Regions from separate parts of the Homo sapiens genome. Here region 2 is linked to region 1. The links are contacts of gene promoters, found by promoter capture Hi-C in blood cells and fetal thymus (Javierre and others, 2016). All regions are on one chromosome and are shown on one strand. The core of a region is centred on a gene start or on the middle of the fragment in contact, and the rest is flanking DNA. Distances in the headings are between cores, read along the strand shown.

The links. Contacts are between HindIII fragments. The CHiCAGO score rates a contact against its expected background, and 5 or more counts as called.
Region 2: a contact is called between a fragment that was not itself captured here and the fragment with the promoter of ARHGAP39 in region 1, in 1 of 17 cell types (M1 macrophages). The highest score is 5.9, in M1 macrophages.

The regions. Positions count from the first base shown.
Region 1 is chr8:144,683,144-144,689,235 of GRCh38, forward strand. ARHGAP39 (Rho GTPase activating protein 39) reads right to left here and starts at 2,703. Exons shown (of 12, transcript NM_025251.3): 1 at 2,543-2,703. RefSeq lists enhancers at 570-1,182, 1,183-1,795, 2,409-3,020, 4,207-5,079. The HindIII fragment of the contact is 8,721 bases long and covers 1-3,344 here.
Region 2 is chr8:144,973,223-144,979,314 of GRCh38, forward strand. It overlaps the pseudogene ZNF252P. Among named protein-coding and RNA genes, the nearest start is that of ZNF16, 25 kb to the left of the region's middle. The HindIII fragment of the contact is 1,387 bases long and covers 2,482-3,868 here.

The DNA of each region.
Region 1 (6,092 bases), core at 1,453-3,952:
TCTCTACTAAAAATACAAAAAATTAGCCAGGCGTGGTGACAGGAGCCTGTAGTCCCAGCTACTCGGGAGGCTGAGGCAGGAGAATGGCATGAACCCAGGAGGCAGAGCTTGCAGTGAGCCAAGATAGTGCCACTGCACTCTAGCCTGGGCGACAGAGCGAGACTCTGTCTCAAAAATTAAAAATAAAAATAAAATAAAATAAAATATTCTTTTTTTTTTTTTGAGACAGAGTCTCGCTCTGTCACCCAGGCTGGAGTGCAGTGGCACAATCTTGGCTCACTGCAAGCTCCGCCTCCTGGGTTCAAGCGATTCTCTGTCTCAGCCTCCCCAGTAGCTAGGACTACAGGCGTGAGCCACCACACCCAGCTAATTTTTGTATTTTTAGTAGAGACGGGGTTTCACCATGTTGGTTAGGCTGATCTTGAACTCCTGACCTCAAGCGATCTGCTCGCCCCAGCTTCCCAAAGTGCTGGCATTACAGGTGTGAGCCACCGCACCTGGCCATTTTTCTCTAAGAACGTCTTAAAACAATCTTATATAATAATTCATCTAAGTATGTGAGGCTTGTCTCTCTTTTACCTTTATAAACATGTGTTCATCCAAATATGACCTCAGCTTTCTTGTGTGAGAAACCAGCGCCACAGACTTCCAGCTTAATGTAAACTTCCAGTTTACATTACATTGGCAGTGCTGGAGAAACTGAAGACCCACTGACCCAGCACATGCACCCCGGAAGCACCAGATCTTGGCAGTAATAACCATTCCTAACTTTCTAAAACACAGTGTGCCACGAACAAAGTGTTTCACAAGTCTTAATTTACTGAGTCCTCACAACAACCCTATGAGGCCAATATTATTAGTGTTCCCATTTTACAGATGAGAAGCCAAAGGCACAGAGACCTTGCCGAAGACCACAAAGCCAGTAAACAGAAGAGTCGCGACTCAGAGGCGGGCAGCCTGGCTCCAGAACCCGCCCTCCTGTCCACTCTGCTCCCCTGCCTCTCAGGAAGACAGCTGGCTACACCAAGTGCAGGGAGCGAGGCGCCACCCCCATTCATTCACTCCAAGCATTTATGGCTACAGAGCCTGCGCCCAGGGCGGTTTATGGAATGAGTCTCCTCGATTTACAGCCACACCTCCTATCAAATCGCCTTTCCCTCCCCCGGCGCGAGAATCGCACCTTGCTCCTTGTGGATCGGGCGCCGCCGACGGAACCACCTGCTGTCTATAGAGGGCACCTAGGACGCAGCGTCCAATTCCCCTCACTGGCTTCAAAAGACAAATCTCCGTATTGTTGTACCAGGAGGCACGAGAAGCCTCACCACTGTAGGTTTTTCAGCAGAGGTCACTGGAGGTCTGGTTAAACCCGTACAGCACTGAGGGGGAGGGGGCCCGGCTGCGTTTCCGAAGCTGCGCAGCGCCCACAGCAGCTGCTGGTGGGAAGCGGCTCGGAACACACCCACAGCTGCCAAGGAGCCGGCTGCACGTTTTAAAATAAAAAACGTCCTGGGCCCCAAAATGCACAGCCCGCCTCTCTCGCCGCCCTGGGCACGGAACGCCGCCTCCACCCACAGCACTCCAGCAACTGGGAAGCAACCGGGAAGCAACCGAGGGAATTCCAGCTCGGGGGGCAACCGGGAGGGGAAGGCTCCGAGCGCCGGAGCCCCAGCCCGCGCCTGCCGCAGAGGCGAGGCCGCAGAGCCCACCCGCAGGCGGCCATGACCCCACCTGGAGACGCCCATGTCCGCTCCCTGCGCCCCGGGGACAAAGCCCGAGGCTGCACCGCAGCGCACCGCAGCCCTGCACCCGGGCCGCCCTTCAGGACGCGGGCACCAGACCCGACCGGCGGGCATCCACCTTGTCCCCACTCCGACGGCGCCCGGGAATGCGGCCGGTGCCCCGAGCTCAGGCTGGGCACACGTGCACCCACACCCACCACGGGCGGGGTCCCCTCACACCCCCCTCGGGCAGGGGCACACTCACACCCATCTAGGGCCGGGCACACTCACACCTCCCTCGGGCAGGAGCACACTCACACCCCCCTGGGGCCGGACACACCCACACTCCCCTCGGGCCGGGCACACTCATACCCACCGTGGACAGGGGCACACTCACACTCACTCTGGACAGGGGCACACCCACACCCACATTGGGGCCGGGCACACTCACACCCACCTAGGGCAGGGACACAACTCACTCTGGACAGGGTACAGTCACACCCACTTCGGGCCGGGCACACGCGAACTCACCCACCCTCACACTCCCAGCCCGGCCCGTCGGCGCGCACCCGGGCCCCGCGCGGCCTCGGCCCCTCGAGCCTCCGCGCCCCCCGCCCGGCCGGGCCCCGCACACCCACGCCCCCTCCCTCCACGGCCCAGTCACAGCCCCTCCCGCCGCTGCAGTCGCCGCGGGCCTGGATTCCTTGCGCTGCCGGGCCTGGAGCCTCCGCCGAGGCTGGGCCAGGACCACGGGGACCGCAGCGCCGGCCCCTCCGCCATCTTCTTGGCCCGCGCCGCCCACCGCCCGTTGCCCGCGCTCTCACCGGCCGGCTGCGCGCGGGCCGCGCCGCCACAGTCCCTCATCCCGGCCCGCGCGACGCGCGTGAGCCAGCCGCCGCTCCCCGGCCTCTCTGCTGCTCCGCCGCTGCTGCCGCGGCAGCCCGTGCTGTCGGCGTCCTCCGCCGCCGCCGCCGGCCCAGTGCGCGGCGGCCGCGCGTCCTCCCGTCACCAAGCGCAACCCCCCGCCTCCGGCTCCGCCCCCGCGGCGGTCACTACCCGCCGCCAGGGGGCACTGCCTCGCGAGGCCGCATCACGCATGCGCTGGCGCGCGGCATGCCGGGAGCCGGAGTCCCGCGGAGGGCGCGCGCGGCATGCTGGGAGCCGCCTGGCCCCGCCCCGTCGCCGCGCCAGAGGCCTCCCGCGCGGACCTACCCTGTGAGTTAGCGGTGTCTTCCCGTCTCTTTCGGTGCAGAGCAGTTACCATCTGACACGTCTCGGTGTGGTTTGGTGTAATTTTGCCCTCTCAAACCACGTTGGGCTTCCCGAGTCTGAGATTTCACTTTTCTTCGACTCTAGAAATACAGCCATTCTTCTCAAAACGTGGGCTGCCCTGTTCCTCAGTCCTTCTTGTGGCGGGCTCGTGTCTCTTCACCTCCTGTTATTCTCACCTTTTTAGTCCTGTCACTTTTACTCGGTAATTCACTCAGCTGCAGCTCGACTAGTGCTCTATTCGGCGTTTTCTAATCTGCGTTCAGCCTGGTTTTCTAGATTCTCTTAGTGCCAGGTGCGTTTCTGGAAATTGAATCTGACTGGCATTTCTGGAGAAACGGAGGCTAAACAGCCTGAAGCTTCGATAGTAGAAGACAGGGGCGCACACCCTTCAGTCCTGGACATTCCCTGGGTCCTCAACTGTGAGAAGCCGCAAAGGGCTGAAAGGCCCCCGTCAAAAGTCATCCGTGGAGCTCCACCTCCTGCCCTGCAGCTCAGTCGCCTTGCAGGGACTCTCCCGCCTCAGGAGATCTCCCGTCGGGCTGTCTCGCCGCCCGCGCTTCCCTGTTGGGCCGTCGTCACACTTCACTCTTCACTCTTATACACAGGGCTCTGCTTTTTCGCCTCCCGCTCCCTCTCCACTGTATTCACTTAGAAAACCCAACTGGGCGAGCCCAACCCTTCTCCTCCATGACTGCTGAAGAAAATCACACATCCAGGCTGACTGCCTTCACCTTAAACTTGTGACAACACACTGGCGGCGAGCACTTCCCACCCCCGTGACCACACACTGGCGGCGACCATTTCCCACCCCTGTGACCACGCACTGGCGGCGAGCACTTCCCACCCCCGTGACCACACACTGGCGGCGACCATTTCCCACCCCCGTGACCACGCACTGGCGGCGAGCACTTCCCACCCCCGTGACCACGCACTGGCGGCGAGCACTTCCCACCCCGTGACCACACACTGGCGGCGACCATTTCCCACCCCCGTGACCACGCACTGGCGGCGAGCATTTCCCACCCCCGTGACCACACACTGGCGGCGAGCACTTCCCACCCCCGTGACCACACACTGGCGGCGACCATTTCCCACCCCCGTGACCACACACTGGCGGTGAGCACTTCCCACCCCGTGACCACGCACTGGCGGCGAGCACTTCCCACCCCGTGACCACGCACTGGCGGCGAGCACTTCCCACCCCTGTGACCACGCACTGGCGGCGAGCATTTCCCACCCCTGTGACCACGCACTGGCGGCGAGCACTTCCCACCCCGTGACCACACACTGGCGGTGAGCATTTCCCACCCCGTGACCACACACTGGCGGTGAGCACTTCCCACCCCTGTGACCACACACTGGCGGTGAGCACTTCCCACCCCGTGACCACACACTGGCGGTGAGCACTTCCCACCCCGTGACCACACACTGGCGGTGAGCAGTTCCCACCCCGTGACCACACACTGGCGGTGAGCACTTCCCACCCCGTGACCACACACTGGCGGTGAGCACTTCCCACCCCCGTGACCACACACTAGCAGTGAGCACTTCCCACCCCGTGACCACACACTAGCGGTGAGCACTTCCCACCCCGTGACCACACATTTACAGTGAGCACTTCCCACCCCTGTGACCACACACTGGCGGTGAGCACTTCCCACCCCGTGACCACACACTGGCGGTGAGCACTTCCCACCCCCGTGACCACACACTAGCAGTGAGCACTTCCCACCCCGTGACCACACATTTACAGTGAACACTTCCCACCCCGTGACCACACACTGGCGGTGAGCACTTCCCACCCCGTGACCACACATTTACAGTGAGCACTTCCCAACCCCGTGACCACATACTAGCGGTGAGCACTTCCCACCCCCATGACCACACATTTACAGTGAGCATTTCCCACCCTGGTGACCACACACTTAACTAATTAAAAATATACAAAATATTTATAGAGGACATTTAACTCTTTTTTTTTTTTTTTTGAGATGGAGTCTTGCTGTGTCACCTAGGCTGGAGTACAGTGGCGCCATCTTGGCTCATTGCAACCTCTGCCTTCTGGGTTCAAGCAATTCTCCTGCCTCAACCTCTTGAGTAGTTGGGATTACAGGTGCCCACCACAACTCCTGGCTAATTTTTTGTATTTTTAGTAGAAATAGGGTTTCACCGTGTTGGCCAGGCTCCTCTCAAACTCCTGACCTCAAGTGATTCACCCACCTCAGCCTCCCAAAGTGTTGGGATTACAGGCGTGAGCCACCACACCTGGCCAAGGACACTTAACTCTTTAAGGACTTAAAAAGAAAATCTAAAGTCCCCACTAATGGAGGGGGACCTGTGTGGTGGCTCACAGCTGTAATCCCATCGTTTTTCCAGGCTAAGGTGGAGGAACGCTTGAGATCAGGAATTCGAGACCAGCCTGGGCTGCATAAGGCAACCCCGTGTCTACAAAAAGAAATTTTAAATTAGCCAGGCGTAGTCAAGAGGCTGAGGTGTGAGGATCACTTGAGCCTGGGAAGGTCGAGGCTGTGGTGAGCTGTGATCACACCACTGCCCTCCAGCCTGGGCAACAGAGCGAGACCCTGTCTCAGAAAGTAAAACAATAATAAATAAATGGAGGAACATAGCACGCTCGTGGACCAGGTGGTATAACATAGTAAAGATGTCGAGTCTTCCTAAAGTTATATAGAAATCCAAAATGTTAATAATCTTAATTCCAGCAAGATTTTTTGAGGACTGTAACAACATATTTTAAAAATTGCACAAAATAATATAGATCTAAAAATAGCACGTCCAATTGTGAAGGAGGACATGAAGGGGGACGGACCCTGCCAGAGATTAAGGTCTGCTCCTGAGCCGGGGTGTTTCACAGGCCCAGAAACACGCAAGGGAATGGAGCAAAGAGTTTAATCACATCCACACATCAAAACCAACGAGAAAAGGTCTATTGTTTAATAGAGCCTCTGTTTGTGAGCTACAGGGAGAAAAACAAAGTTGGATCCCTGGGCCACCCCGGGGTATTTACACATCCGTGTTCCTCTCCTAGGGAGGTGCCCAGGGCTCGCCTGGCGCATCACAGGGTGCCTGCAAGTTTGACTTTTT
Region 2 (6,092 bases), core at 1,925-4,424, 290 kb after region 1:
ATTTCCACTCCTATCAGCCGCGTATGAGAGTAACTGTTGCTAAATATATTTGGTGTCATTCTCTGTCAGATCTTTAATTTTTGCCAACCTAGTGAGGGTAAAATGACATCTTGTAATATCATTTTGCATGTCTGTGATTAATAATGACCTTTGCCCCTCTTTTCATACAGGTTGGTCATGGGAGGGTTTTGGGTGATGAAGAAGCCTTGGCAGGTTTCGTGGCAGAGAAAAATCCAACTAAGTCATGCTGCCTGGAGAGTCAGGGCCTCATAAATTGGGATTAGAGGCAGGAGTTTTAGTCCTAAAGATCTTACAGATTCCCAACCATACAAAGTGCCTCCCACCTTACATGAAAATGGGCAATAATGGAATCCACTGATTACATTTTAATGTTTGTGAATACACATATAAAACACACATTAACCTTAACAATTGGTGGGGAAGATTGGCAGCACAGGACTATGCACAACAAATTAGCAGGCACTAAGGCAGAATATCTTTTACAGCAGAAAGACCAAATCTGTCCCTTTCTGATGCACATCTTCAGTTTTGGGTCATGAGCTAGTGGTGGAGGTCAAGGCCAAGGTCAACCTAAGAAGTCTACAATAGCATGCATCAATGGAAATGCTGCAGAACAAACATGGAGGAAAAAGTAAAAATGCTCTTGTAACCATCAACACCTGCAAATATGCCACTTACTCTTTTTCTCTTGTGAGTGCAGTGAGCATGACTAAACACAGTAGCTCTCTGGGAAGAGCAAGAATAAAGGAGTCTTCAGAATGAGTTGTAAGATATGTATGATGCTTACAAAGTGGAGTTCACAATTGTCCTGTTTAATGTCAGTCTCCTTATTTTAAGAATGCTTCAGGTGACAAAGGCCTGTGTCAGCAGTATGGATCATGATGAGATTCCTGGAAGGCTGAACCTCTGCTGGTACAGGCATAAAACTCCTCCAGAAATGGCTTCTTTTTATTAACTAAAGAAACTGAAAATGCCTTTCTCCTCTCAATTTTAATGTAAGTGGTTAAGAAGCCAGGAGAGGCCGGTGTGGTGGTACACAGCTGTAGTCCCTGCTACTCATGAAGTTGAGGCAGGGGAATCACTTGAGCCCAGGAGTTCAAGGTTACAGTGAGCTATGACTGCACCACTGCACTCCACCCTGTGCAACATGATACAGCATGATACTGTCTCAAAAAAAAATGCTAGGAAGTACCAAGTGTATGATTGCTCTATGCCAATCATCAAATAGAGCAGAGACCATCTAGCTCCCAACCAATATTAATGCCATCACCAAGCCAAGTAATTAGGAAACAGAAATTTGACTTGAATAGAGAACATTAAAAGCCATGATAAATAAAATTCAGTATGATTTGGATGAAATATTTAATGGAAAATAAAAACATATTCCAAACTGATAAGGTTAATCTGGAGAAATGTTTTAGCCATAAAACCCAAAACCGGATTTGAGTAAATACCGAGGTTCTTAGTTAAGTAAACACCTCCATCTTATGTAAACAGGTTTAAAACAAAAAAAATATTATTTTCTGATTTGGTTGTGTAATCGTGGGCCTCAGAGGAAAAGCTTCCTAACCCTTTTGTCATATATATATATATTTTTTGGAGTCTTGCTTTGTGGCCATGCTGGAATGCAGTGGTGCAATCTTGGCTCACTGCTACCTCCGCCTCCTGGGTTCAAGCAATTCTCCTGCCTCAGCCTCCCAAGTAGCTGGGACTACAGGCGTGCACCACCATGCCCAGCTAATTTTTGCATTTTGTAGAAATGTGGTTTCACCATGTTGGCCAGGATGGTCTTGATCTCTTGACCTCGTGATCTGCCCACTTCAGCCTCCCAAAGTGCTGGGATTACAGGTGTGAGACACCGCGCCCAGCCTCCTTTTGTCATCTCTTGATGGAACCTCAAAGAAGAGATCCTTGGGGGAAACTGAATTTCTTTTTGCTTCCTTCTTAAAAGTTCTTCTCTAGAAGAAGTTGTAACTGGGTAACAAGCTCTAAGTCCCTGGATCAGCCTGCAGGCAAGAGAGCTGGGTGAATTGACATTTAAGTTTTGACTTAACTTCAGGAGATTAAGGTTTCCAGCCACCTCAGGAAAAGCCATGAACTCTGTTCTTGCAGTGTAACATAGCTATCTGTGATGGGTAAGTGAAGCCATAAGCCACAGGCTCCCACCCTTGGACATTTTCCTGATTTTTCTTCATGACAACATATCTAGAAGACCCATCTACCAAATCCTGTTTAAGTAAAATGTACAATTTCCCATTTTGAATTAGTTGGATATATTGGGCCAGCTACAAGACTGCAAGCTCCTTGCTGGCAGCGTCTTAACTCTTGGAAACCTGGAGGTGGATTACAGTGTTATCTGACTTTTTAGCAAGGTCTCAACTATTTTAATCTACACAAAGACTCACCTTATTCCTTGACAAACTTTTGCTTATAATCATGTTTCTCTTCCCTGTGAATTGAAGCTTAAGGTATCATATTCCTTATAACAGAATAAAAACGTTTTGAAGAGGCCCAAACAAACAAAGAAAACCCTAGCCTGGTTCCATCACACTTGGAAGTGCAAGGATCTCAACTACTTTCTTTGAAGTTGAAATAAATCATACAAAAAAAAAAAAAAAAAAAAGCAAAGCAAAGCAAAGTAAGTGGTCTCCAGTGAAATACCTAACTGTACCTTAGGGTCTGGTGCCATGAAATGCATCTAAATAATTAAGTTTCACATATCTACAGGGCTCAAGAAGGGGGCTCATCCTCTGAATCTGAAGCAAGGTGTGCTATTGTGGGATTGCTGCTATATACTTCAGCAGCCTGCCTTTAGTTAGCAGCTCACTGGGAGAGTGAAATCCCTTAAGAGCTGAATCTCCAAAAGGAAAACCATAAAGTGACTCATTTCTCACGAGTATGACTCTCATATAATGTATAACTGTGAAGAATTTATAGACTAATCAGTTACTCTCCACTGTGAACTGTACAATGTTGAATGAAAGATGACTGTGCGCTAGAGTTCCCCACACTTACTACATTCATAGACTTGCTCTCTAATGTGAATTGTATGGATTTTCTCATGACTACTAAGAGTTATTCTCTAACTGAAGGTTTTTTCACATCGATTACACGTATGAGGTTGCTCCCCACTGTGAATTCTCTGATGTTGAATAAGGTGAGAGCTTTGTCAGAAGGATTTTCCACATTTGGCACATACATAGGGTTTCTCTCCAGTGTGAATTCTCTTGTGTTGGATAAGGGATAAGCATGCACTGAAGGATTTCTCACACTCATTGCACATGTAGGGTTTCTCTCCAGTGTGAATTCTCTGATGTTGGATAAATTGTGAATGCTGACTGAACGCCTTGCCACAGTCACTACATTCATAAGGTTTCTCACCAGTATGAATTCTGTGATGCTGAATGAGAGAGGAACAAACATTGAAGGCCTTCCCACATTCACTGCACTCATAGGGATTCTCTCCAGTGTGAATTCTTTGATGGTGGATAAGGTGTGCACTCTGGCTGAAGGCCTTCCCACAGTCACTGCACTCATAGGGCTTCTCTCCATTGTGTGTTCTCTCATGCTTAATTAGGGTGGATATCTGCCCAAAGGTTTTCCCACACTCATTACACTCATAGGGTTTCTCACCAATGTGACTCCTCTGATGCTGAATAAGGTGTGACCCCTGGCTAAAGGCCTTCCCACATTTGTGACACTCATAGGGTTTGTCTCCATTATGTATTCTCTGATGTTGAACAAGGGAAGAAAGCAAACTGAAGGCTTTATCACATTCATTACATTCATAGGACTTCTCACCATTGTGTGTTCTTTGATGGTGAATAAGATTAAAACTCTGGCTGAAAGCTTTTCCACACTCACTACATTCATAGGGTTTCTCTCCTGTGTGAATTCACTGATGCTGAATAAGATGTCCCTTTTGACTAAAGGTTTTCCCACACACACTACAACCATAAGGTTTCTCTCCAGTGTGAATTCTCTGATGCTGGATAAGGGATAGACGAGCACCAAATGATTTTCCACACTCATTGCAGATATAAGGTTTCTCTCCAGTGTGAATTCTCTTATGTTGAATAACTTGTGAGCATTGACTAAAGGATTTCCCACATTCATTACACCTATAAGGTTTCTCTCCAGTGTGAATTCTCTGATGGACAGTAAGAGTTCGGTTCAGGCTAAAGGATTTTGCACATTCATTACATTCATAGGGCTTTTCTCCTGTATGAATTCTCTGATGCTGAATGAGAAATAATTGTGTACTGAAGGCTTTGCCACACTCCTTACAGTCATAAGGTTTCTCTCCAGAATGAATTCTCTGATGCTGAATAAGGTTTGATTGTCTGTTGAAGGCTTTCCCACATTCTTTGCACTTGTAAGGTTTCTCTCCACTATGAATTCTCTGATGATGAATTAGATTAGAGCTATGACTAAAGGCTTTCCCACACTGATTACACTCATGATGTTTCTCTCCTGTATGAATTTTTAGATGTTGAACATAAGATGAATGTGTACTAAAAGCTTTCCCACATTTAATACACTCATAGGGTTTTTCTCTAGTGTGAATTTTACAATGCTGAATAAAGTATGAGTGAACACTGAAAGATTTGCCACAATCCTCACATGTGTAGAGTTTCTTACCAGTGTGGATTCTCTGATGTTTACTGAGGATAGAGGGCCAACTGAAAGCTTTTCCACATTCATTGTGCTCATAGGTCTTCTCTCCACTATGAAATCTCTGGTGCTGGTTAAAAGCTCTGTTCTGATTGTAAGTTTTTCCACACCCAGTACTCTCAAACCATCTCTCTGGATTATTCATCCTCTGATTCTCACTAAGAACTGAGCTCTGTCTGGGCACTTTCACTAACACATCTGTCTGATAGGCTCTTTCTCCTAATTGGAAACTCTGGAGGTTAATGAGGTCCTCATGTTGTTGCAAGTTTTCTACACTTGACACACTTGGATGGAGACTCTCCTCTCTAGACCCTCTAAGATGTTTGGCAGGATTTGAGTCTGTAATGCAGTTTTCTCCAACAGCATTGAACTTCTGGCCATTCTCTCTAGAGAGGGTTTTCACATACCTCATGGTAATTTCTCTGAAATTGCTCTTCTGGGAGAATGAGTTCTTAACTCCTTCTACTGCATATTTTCTCCAGCAATTCTCTAACTTTCCCTCAGTTTTACTCATCTCTTCAGTTTCCTTAAAAATATTCCTTACATGATCTTCTGATTTTGCTCTCTGGGATTCCAATTCTTCAGAAATGTCCTGCTTTGGAATCATTTCCTCTTTTTCAATCCTAGAATCACAGCCTGAAAGAATGAAAAAGAAAAAAAAAGTGAATCGCTTGCATTTTACTATGGAAGAAAGAATTAGAGAATAAACAGAAATATTTGTATCAAACAAATATCTTCTAGGATAATACTGATATTCAGAATGCAAATAAAAAAAAAAGCAACAAATATGACCCCATTGGGGAGAGGAAAAAGAGAAGCATGCTGGTAAAGCAATGAACACTGGTGTGGGAAGGAAGAAGGAAGGTAATATGCCCAAGGTCAAAGGCTTAAATCTGCAACCAGGCTGACCTTTCCTGGAGTAGGAAAGGCAAGATCTGAGAAAGGATTTGGGGAGAGTTACCAGGAGGGAGGAATTGGAGGCTGCCTCCACTATTCATGTCATTGCTGCATACTTTGTAAACAAGGTATCTTCTTATGGCTTACACATAGCATACTCAAATATTTGTTGAAAATAAATGATAAATGACTCATAATAAATGAGGTGTACATCAGTGCAATAGATGATGAAAAAAACTATTTGATCTAGACAACTTGGTTTCACAGAAGCAAATCAGGAAAAACAGAAAAAAGCAGCAACCTACTCAGGAAATAGCTTGGGCAGCACAAGGCAAAAAGGCCAAGTATAAACAACAGTCCCAAATCACACATTTCCAGTGAACAAAAGTGTCCAAAAATTTGTGAAAACTATAAAACTGAATTCTGAGACCCAATGAAAGGAAGCTTATTAAAAAGAAAAATCCAAAACCAACCAACAAAACAAATAAACAAACAAAAAA